Regions from separate parts of the Homo sapiens genome. Here region 1 is linked to region 2. The links are contacts of gene promoters, found by promoter capture Hi-C in human tissues and cell types (Jung and others, 2019). All regions are on one chromosome and are shown on one strand. Each heading gives the region's core, a stretch centred on a gene start or on the middle of the fragment in contact. The rest is flanking DNA. Distances are from core to core; before and after follow the strand shown.

What was found. Contacts are between HindIII fragments. The study calls those that stand out against the background at their distance.
Region 1: a contact is called between a fragment that was not itself captured here and the fragment with the promoter of FBLN5 in region 2, in 3 of the 25 tissues and cell types used here (aorta, mesendoderm cells and pancreas).

What each region holds. Positions count from the first base shown.
Region 1 is chr14:91,761,358-91,766,009 of GRCh38, reverse strand. No RefSeq gene overlaps it. Among named protein-coding and RNA genes, the nearest start is that of CATSPERB, 32 kb to the right of the region's middle. The HindIII fragment of the contact is 5,541 bases long and covers 410-4,652 here.
Region 2 is chr14:91,944,688-91,949,838 of GRCh38, reverse strand. It overlaps FBLN5 (fibulin 5), which reads left to right and starts at 2,145. Exons shown (of 11, transcript NM_006329.4): 1 at 2,145-2,626. The coding sequence starts at 2,610. The HindIII fragment of the contact is 12,789 bases long and covers 1-5,151 here.

The DNA.
Region 1 (4,652 bases), core at 1,931-4,430, 180 kb after region 2:
CAATAATGAGATTGCTAGATTGAATAGTAGTTCTATTTTTAGTTCTTTGAGGAATCTCCATATTTTTCATAGAGGTTATACTAATTTATATTCCTATTGATAGTATATAAGCATTCCCTTTTTTTCCACATTCTCATTAACATCAATTTTTTTTTTTTTGAGATAGAGTCTTGCACTGTCACCCGGGGTTGGAGTGCAATGGTGTGATCACCGCGTCCCGGGTTCACGTTATTCTTCTGCCTCAGCCTCCCAAGTAGCTGGGATTACAGGCGTATACCCCTACACCTGGCTAATTTTTGTATCTTTAGTAGAGACAGGATTTCAATATGTTGGCCAGGTTGGTCTTGAACTCCTGACCTGGTGATCCGCCTGCCGCAGCCTCCCAAAGTACTGGGATTACAGGCATGAGCCACCTGCACCGGGCCTTTTTTTGACTTTTAAAAAGTAGCCTTTTAAACTGGTGTGAGATGATATGTCATGGTGCTTTTAATTTGCCATTTCTCCTATGATTATGTTAATCATTTTTTCATATGCTTGCTGGCCATTTCCATGTCTTATTTGGAAAAATGTCTTTTCACATCCTTTGCCCACTATTAAATGGGGTTATTTGTATTTTTGTTGTTGACTTATTTGAGTTCCTTGTAGATTCTGGATAGTAATCCTTTGTCAGATGCATAGTTTGCAGATATTTTATCTGATTTTTCAAGTAATTACTCCATTGATTATTTCTTTTGCTGTGGAGAAACTTTTTAGTTTATTGAAGTCCCATTTTTCTATTTTGTGTGTGTTTTTTTTTTTTTTTTGCAATTGTTTTTGAGGTCTTAGTCATGAATTCTTTGCCTAGGTCAATGTCCAGAAGAGTTTTCCCTAACAGGTTTTCTTCTAATTTGAAGTTGATAATGTGATGCCTCTAGCTTTGTTCTTTTTGCTTAGGATTGCTTTGGTAATTTGGACTCTTTTTTGGTTCCATATGGATTTTAGGACTGGTTTTTCTAATTCTGTGAAAAATGATATTGATATTTTGATAGGAATTGCATTGAATCTGTAGATTTCTTTGAGCAGTATGATCATTTTAATGATATTGTTTCTTCTATTCCATGAGCCTGAAATATTTTTCCATTTGTTTATGTCATCTGTTAATACTTTTTAAAAATTAGTGTTTTATAGTGTTTCTTATAGAGATCTTCACCTCCTTCATTAAATAATATATTCCTAGATATATGTTTTAATCTAGTGTAAATGGGATTGAGTTCTTGATTTGGTTCTCAACTTGATCATTCTTGATATATAGAAATGCTACTGATTTTTATACATTGGTTTTGTATTCTGAAACTTTACCGAATCCATCTATCAAATCTAGGAGCCTTTTAGAGGCATCTTTAGGGCTTTTCTAGGTATAAGCTCATATTGTCAGCAAACAGATAATTTAACTTTCTTGTTTCCAATTTGGATACCTTTTATTTCTTCCTCTTGCCTGAGTGCTCTGGCTAGGACTCCCAGTAGTATGTTGAATAGGAGTGGTGAAAGTGGGTATCCTTGTCTTGTACCAGTTTTTAGGGGGAATACCTTTAACTTTTCCTCATTCTGTATGATGTTGGCTGTGGGTTTGTCATATATGCTTTTTATTATTTTGTATAATGATCTTTTATACCTCTTTTTTTAGGACTTTTATCATGAAGGGATGCTGAATTTCATCAAATGCTTTTTCTGCATCTATTGAGATGATCGTATGGTTTTTGTTTTAATTCTGTTGATGTGGTGAATCACATTTATTGACTTGTGTTTGTTGAACTCTCCTTGCATCCCTGGAATAAAACCTACTTGATTGTGGTATATTATCTTTTTGATGTGCTGTTAGATTCAGTTTGCTAGTATTTTGTTGAGGGTTTTTGCATCTGTGTTCATCAGGGATATTGATCTATAGTTTTTGTTGTTGTTGTTGTTGTTATGTCCTTGTCTGGCTTTGATATCAGGGTGATACAGGCTTTGCAGAATGAGTCAGGAAGGATTCCTCAATTTTGGGGAACATTTTGAGGAGGTTCAGTACCAGTTCTTCTTTGAACTGTCTTGGAGAATGCTCCATGTGCTGATGAGAACAATATACATTCTGCTGTTTTTGGGTAGAATCTTCTGTAAATGTCTGTCAAGTTCATTTGGTCTAAAGTCCAATTAAAGTCCAGTGTTTGTTAATTTTCTGTCTTGATGATCTCTCTAGTGCTGAGTTAGGTGTTGACATTCCCTACTATTATTGTATTGCTGTCTATTACCCTCTTTAGGTCTAGTAATATTTGTTTTTATGAATCTGGGTGCTATAGCATTGGGTGCATATATATTTAGGATTGTTATATCCTCTCATTGAATTGATCCCTTTAGCATTGTATAATAACTTTTTTTGGTAGTTTTTTTTTTACTGTTGTTGATTTAAAGTCTGTTTTATCTGATATAAGTATAGCTATTCCTGCTCACTTTTGGTTTCCATTTGCATGGAATATCTTTTTCTACCACTTTACCTCCTTACTGTAAGTGTCTTTATCAGTAAGGTGAGTTTCTTGTAAGCAGCATATAGTTCGTTCATGTTTTTTTTTTTTAATCCATTCCATGAATCTATATATTTTAAGTGTAGTGTTTAATACATTTACGTTCAAGGTTAATATTGATATGTGAGGTTTTGTTTCTAGTATGTTATTAATTGTTATCTAGTTTCTTTGTAGATTCTTTGGTTTTTTTTTTTTTTGTCCATCTGTCTTTGTGATTTGGTCATTTGTTGTTTTGTCATTTGATTTCTTCCCCTGTCCTCTCTGTGTGATTGTTTTATAAGACCTATGAGTTTTATACTGTAAACCAAAAATAAAATACTAAGCCCCCCCTCAACCATCTGAATGGACTTCCTCCTCAACCAAGGCTCTTTTAATATTTAACCTGAGAGACTGTTTCAGGCCATGATGGGAAATGAGGGTTGGTTATGCCTCATTATACCTCTCTGGCATTAACATCAACACAGACTTTAAGTCTGATAAGAAACATTTTACAACCTATGATCTCTGAAGCCTAGTACCTGAAGACTTCCTCTGCAAATAAGAACTTGGGTCTCCACAATCCTTTATCTTAACCCAGACGTTCCTTTCTATTGATCCCAGGTCTTTAGATAAACCCAACCAATTGTCAATCAGAAAGTTTTTAAATCTACCTATAAGCAGGAAGCCCCCACTTCAAGTTGTCCTGCATTTCTGGACCAAACCAATGTATTTCTTAAATTTTTTTTATTGAAGTCTCATGTCTCCCTAAAATATATAAAACCAAGCTGCATCCTAACCACCTTGGGCACATGTTCTCAGGACCTCCTGAGGGCTGTGTCATGGGCCATGGTCACTCATATTTGGCTCAGAATAAGTTTCTTCAAATATTTTACAGAGTTTAACTCTTTTCATTGACAATACTGTCATATGTTTTTATGATGGCAAATATTGATCTTTCACTTCCATGTTTAAAACTCCTTTAACATTTATGGTAGGACTGGTCTAGTGGTAACAAATTCCTTGGGTATTTGCTTCTCTGGGAAAGACTTCATTTTGCCTTCATTTATAAAGCTTATTCCAGCAGGATACAAGATTAGTGGTTGGCAGTTTTTTCTTTAAGCACTTTGAAAATAGAATCCCAATCTCTTCTGGCTTCTGAAGTTTCTGCCGAGAAGTCTGCTGTTAGTATGATGGAGTTTCCTTAATAGGTGATGTGTTAGGCCATTTTTGCATTGCTATAAATAAATACCCAAGGCTGAGTATTTTATAAAGTATTTAGCTCATGGTTCAGCAGTCTGTATAAGCATGTTACCAGAATCTGCTTGGCTTCTGGTGAGGCCTCAGGAAACTTACAGTCATGGAGGAAGGTGAATGAGAACTATTGTGTCACATGGCAAGAGCAGGAGCAAGAAAGAGATAGGGGAGGTGCTACACTCTTTTAAACAACCGGATCTCATATGAATCCATCACCACTAATTATCTCAGGGAGGGCACAAAGCTATTCATGGGGAATCTGCCCCCGTGAGCCAAACACCTCCCACTAGGCTCCACCTCCAACAATGAGAATTATATTTCAACATGAGATTTGGAGTGAGAAAACATCCAAACTGTATCAGGCGACTAGCTGCTTTCCTCTTGCAGAATTTAGGATTTTTTTCCTTCATGTTAACTTTAGATGATCTGATGACTATATGTTGTCGTGAGGCAACATGTTTTCCTAGAGTTCACTGGGCCTCTTATATCTGAATGTCTAAATCTCTTGGTAGACTAGAGAAGTTTTCCTCAATTATTTTCTCGAATACTTTTTTTTTTTTTTTTTTTTTGAGACGGAGTCTTGCTCCGTCGCCTGGGCTGGAGTACAGTGGTGCGATCTCGGCTCACTGCAAGCTCCGCCTCCTGGGTTCACGCCATTCTCCTGCCACAGCCTCCTGAGTAGCTGGGACTATAGGTGCCCACCACCACGCCCGGCTAATTTTTTGTACTTTTTTAGTAGAGACGGGGTTTCACCATGTTAACCAGGATGGTCTCCATCTCCTGACCTCGTGATCCGCCAGCCGCCCACCTCGGCCTCCCAAAGTTCTGGGATTACAGGCGTGAGTCAAATAGTGTTTCTAAACTTTTTGCTTTTTCTTCTCC
Region 2 (5,151 bases), core at 896-3,395:
CTGGCCAGGCGCGGTGGCTCAAGCCTGTAATCTCAGCATTTTGGGAGGCCGAGGCCCATGGATTGCTTGAGCCCAGGAGTTCAAGACCAGCCTGGCCAACATGGCAAAACCCCATCTCTACTAAAAATACAAAAATTAGCCAGGCACGGTGGTGCGTGCCTATAATCCCAGCTACTTGGGAGGCTGAAGCAGGAGAATTGCCTGAACTTGGGAGGTAGAACTTGCAGTGAGCCGAGATTACACCACCATACTCCAGCCTGGGCGAGAGAGTGAGACTCCATCTCAAAAAAAGGAACCCTAGTCTCCCTCTCTCCATCATGTGAGGACATAGCAAGAAGACAGTCATCTGCAACCAGGAGAGGACCCTCATGAGAACCTGGCTATGCCCACACCCTGATCTCAGACTTCCAGCCTCCAGAACTGGGAGAGATAAATGTTATTGCATAAACCACCCAGTCTATGGTATTCTGTTATAGCAGCCTGAGCTAAGACCAATAATACTCATGGTTTCTTGTGCATCCTTCAGGTGATGTCTTTTCTGTACGTGTACAAGCAAGAACTTATGTATTTATTTTTTTTCCCACAAATGATGGCATGCTTTACACACAGTTCTGCAGCTTACTTTTTACATTTATTACTATATTAGATCAATCTATGTGAAATTACCAATATTCTACTGTTTTGACCCACAAAATATATTGGAAACCCTTCAATAGCAGTGCATACGGAGCTGTTTCAGTCTTTTTTTCAAAATAAGATATAACATACATAAGACTTCACAAATATTAAATGTACACACCCCTACATAACCAGCATCCAGATCAATCATTAGATTATTACCAGCACCCAGAAGGGGCTGGGCTGCCTCCCAGTCACTATCTGACTTTGAATTTTATATAAATGGAGTCGTTTGATGTGGACTCTTAAGTGTCTAGGTTTTAATTGGTTGCACAATAGTCCCTTTGGAAGCCCCTTACTTTATTTAACCCTATTGGTGCCTTGCTGATCGACCTTAAAGGTGTTTATAATCTTTTGCTTTTACAAACAATGGGGGGATGAACAACCTTATAAACATAAGGTATTTAAAAAAGTGTTTTACAGGAAATTTCAAACACGTAAAAGGAAATAGATTAGACTAGTATAATGGACACAGCTTCAACAACTATCCACATTCTGTTATTCTCCTTTGGGTAGAATTCCATTTACTTACCCCCAAAAATGCCTTAGGGAAGGCTAAATATGTAGACTCCAGAGGCTCAGCTGTACCAATGAATAGCTGCGTGACTATGGGGAGGTTACCTAACCTCTCTTATCTTCACCTCTAATAACATGGAGATGATCATTCCTACTGCTTAGAGTGGTGGTGAGGACAGGGGACCTGGATCAGGGCTTTTCGGCTGCAGGTAGGAAGATGCAGGTGGAAGCAGATGGGATAGGCCACAGTCCATCCACTGGCGTTTTATAGAGTGAGTGCCTTCTGTAAGATTTCATTGACAAAAGTACTCCAATGGCTTAAAAACAAACAAACAAACAAACAAACAAACAGGAAAAAGAAACAGGTTGAAGCCTCCACTAGAATGAATGCAAAGGACTCAGCATGTCTTATGTGCTGTCTCCACCATTCTGCTTTTCCAGACTGTCCCTTCTTCAAATCACCGTTTAACTTGTTAAAATCACTTTCGAGCCAGGGGACACTTTTCCAGGAAAGCGAGAAAATGCCAGGGAGAATCGGGGAATGAGGGCGGGGAGAGAAAAGCGTCCTAAGACTTGCATTGCACAAGCTGAAGTCTGGAATTCGCACCAGCGGGATTCCATCCTCTTCCCCCCCACCCCACCCCGCTGCTCCCCACCCCTTCTTCGGGAAGATCGCGACTCTCCCGTCGCTCGCCCCAAGCCTCTGCTTCGTAGGTTCTGGTTTCCCAATCGATCGTGAGTTTCTAGTCCCTGGAGCTGCGTGGGTCGTGAGTTCAAGTCCCTTTCCTTCCGGAGGCGACAACGTTCTCGCGGGTCCCCTTGCCACGCAGCGCGGGCGTGCACGCCCCTCCCCGCCGGGCCGCGCTGCCAGCCCCGCCCCGCCCCTGGGTGGGAAGGTCAAGGGGCCCGGGCCCTCCCAGCCCCCGCACCCCTGCGCGCGCCCGCCCCTCGCCTTCTGCCCGGGCGCTCGCAGCCGAGCGCGGCCGGGGAAGGGCTCTCCTCCCAGCGCCGAGCACTGGGCCCTGGCAGACGCCCCAAGATTGTTGTGAGGAGTCTAGCCAGTTGGTGAGCGCTGTAATCTGAACCAGCTGTGTCCAGACTGAGGCCCCATTTGCATTGTTTAACATACTTAGAAAATGAAGTGTTCATTTTTAACATTCCTCCTCCAATTGGTTTAATGCTGAATTACTGAAGAGGGCTAAGCAAAACCAGGTGCTTGCGCTGAGGGCTCTGCAGTGGCTGGGAGGACCCCGGCGCTCTCCCCGTGTCCTCTCCACGACTCGCTCGGCCCCTCTGGAATAAAACACCCGCGAGCCCCGAGGGCCCAGAGGAGGCCGACGTGCCCGAGCTCCTCCGGGGGTCCCGCCCGCGAGCTTTCTTCTCGCCTTCGCATCTCCTCCTCGCGCGTCTTGGACATGCCAGGAATAAAAAGGTGGGTTCTCGGCGCTGGACTTTTCTTTCTCCAGGGTCTGGAAGCCTTGCTAAAAATCCGATGGGTGGAAAATGGTTATGGCTGCGATTCAGGCGGTGTCAGGATATTGGAAAAGGCATGAGCTAGTGATGCAATGATATTGTTAATTATAAAAAGCTGCGCCTCTGTAATTTCCATCTTGAAGCGTTCTTTTGGGAGTGGGTATTTTCTAATACAGTTTCAAAAGCCAGCATCAGAGAGGGCTGCGAAATTCTCAGCGCTTCATTCCTCTTTCTTTTCTGGAAAGGGCAGCAACTTTGTCGTTTTAAGGGATTTTTGTATGTATTTTTTAAATTTCGGGAGGCCAATTACTAGTTCACTAGCAATTACTGCGCCGCATCGGCTGATAGACAAGCAGACAGGCTAGCTGAACACCGCGGGGCTGGATTTGCTCTATGTTTGTGTGGGATTCTCACAGAAGTTTCAAGCCAATGAGAAGTGGGAACTGCAGACAGAGATACATGTAAGCAAATGTTTTGCTATTCTTTAAGGAAATTGCAATTACAGTTAAGTAATCCTTAAGTCTTGGAGAACTTTACCTAAATGACACCCACAGTCTTTATTCAGCGAGCTCTTGAAAACATACTGCTTTGAACAAATTAACCTTGTGTGCGTATGTATGTGTCTGTGGGGTGTGTGTGTGTGTGTGTGTGTGCTGAAAACTAAGCTGTAACAATGTCATCCTGGATTGGGGACCAGCACTTCTGTGACAGGCAGTCCTGGTATTTGGTTGGTCTCTCCGGCTTTCCTTGTGTTTCAGGCTGAGGCACAACACCGGCGAACCCACCTGCTTTAGAAAGTTCCCAGGACCGGTTATGAGCACCAACCTGCCTCCCCCCAGCTATTCTTATAGTTAGTTCATTTTTGGAGTTTCCAGGGTTTTTTTTTTTTAATCACAAGGTGCAGCTATTCGTGATGCTGTGAGGCAGTAGTGCTTGGGTATTCTTTCATTTTAGGAAAATCCTATTAGCCTGGAACCTGTTTGGCCCCCAGGACTCAGCTGTGGCTCTTCCAAGAGGCTGGGCTTGAGGCAAGACCTGTCCCAGGGCTGCCTCTAGCCAAAGGGAATGGGGCTGCGGGGAGTAGGGGGAAAGATGGGGTTAGCATGCCTTTTCAACTAGCTCTTGAAGTCCACTGTGTTGCAGTCAGCCTGTTCTTTCTCCAACATAAACGAGACAGGGTTTTATAACCAACTGAAAGGAAACTTCATGTGAAGAAACAGGAAAACATTGAAATTCATAATACACAGACTGGAAAATAAATTTGTTATTGTTCTTTCATTCCTTCCAGATATAAATCTGGCCATGGCAAATATCAAAAAGCCCTGGGATTTGGCTCTGCACTTTATAAGGTCAGAGCTGTCTCCAGCGTTCTAGAATCTGGCTCACCCAGGCACTTACATGAAAACTTGTGGACTCTCAGCGTCCTTATTTTTTGGATTGGGGACTCGATAAAGGAAATGGCCTCGCATCTCCTAAGATCGTATCAGGGCCCTATTCCCTCTGGATGTCAGCTTAACTCCAGGTCCTCTAATACCCAGGGTTGCTGATGCAGATGGGCCATGTGTCCTGAAAGGGAGGGATTATATTGTTGTGGTGCACGTTTGTAGTAACGGGCCCCAGAATTCAGCCATGTCCCCAGGTTCACTGCTCTGTTGAAGAAGCCTTCAAGATCACCTTCTCCAGGAAGTCTTGTTGCTACCCACAGCCTGGTTGTTATGGCACCCAATAGGTATTTCTTTCCATGCCCTTGCCAAGGTGTATGGACATTGTCGTGGCTCCCCAACTGGTTCTCAAGGGTAGTGGTTGTTTCACAGTTCTGTAGCTCCTCCATCTGGCATCCACACCCACAAGCAGTAGTTGCTTGGATAAACTGCTGTTGAACTGAATAATAGTACTAGATAACGCTCTGCTTTTGTTTAGATTTTCTTTTTTTTTTTTTTTTTGAGACGGAGTCTCGCTGTCTCCCGGGCTGGAATGCAGTGGCGCAATCTCGGCTCCCTGCAACCTCTGCCTCCTGGGTTCAAGTGATTTGTCTGCCTTGGCCTCCAGAGTAGCTGGGACTACAGGCGCCTGCCACCACAGTCGGCTAATTTTTGTATTTTTAGTAGAGACGGGGTTTCACCATGTTGCCCAGGCTGGTCTCAAACTCCTGACCTCGGGTGATCCACCCACCTCGGCCTCCCAAAGTGCTGGGATTAGAGGTGGGAGCCACCATGCCCAGCCTGATTTTGTCTTTTTTTCTACCATAACCATTTTGAAGAGTCTAGTTCAGTAGTGTTAACTGCATTCACATTGCTGTGCAATCTCCAGAACTCTTTTCACCTTGCATGACTGAATCTCTGTACCTATTAAACAATTCCCCATCTTCCCCTCCCACTAAGCCCCTGGTTACCAACATTCCACTTTTTGTCTCTGTAATTTCGACTACACTAGGTGCCTCGTATAAATGGACCCATGCAGACTTTGTCTTTTTTGTGAGTGGCT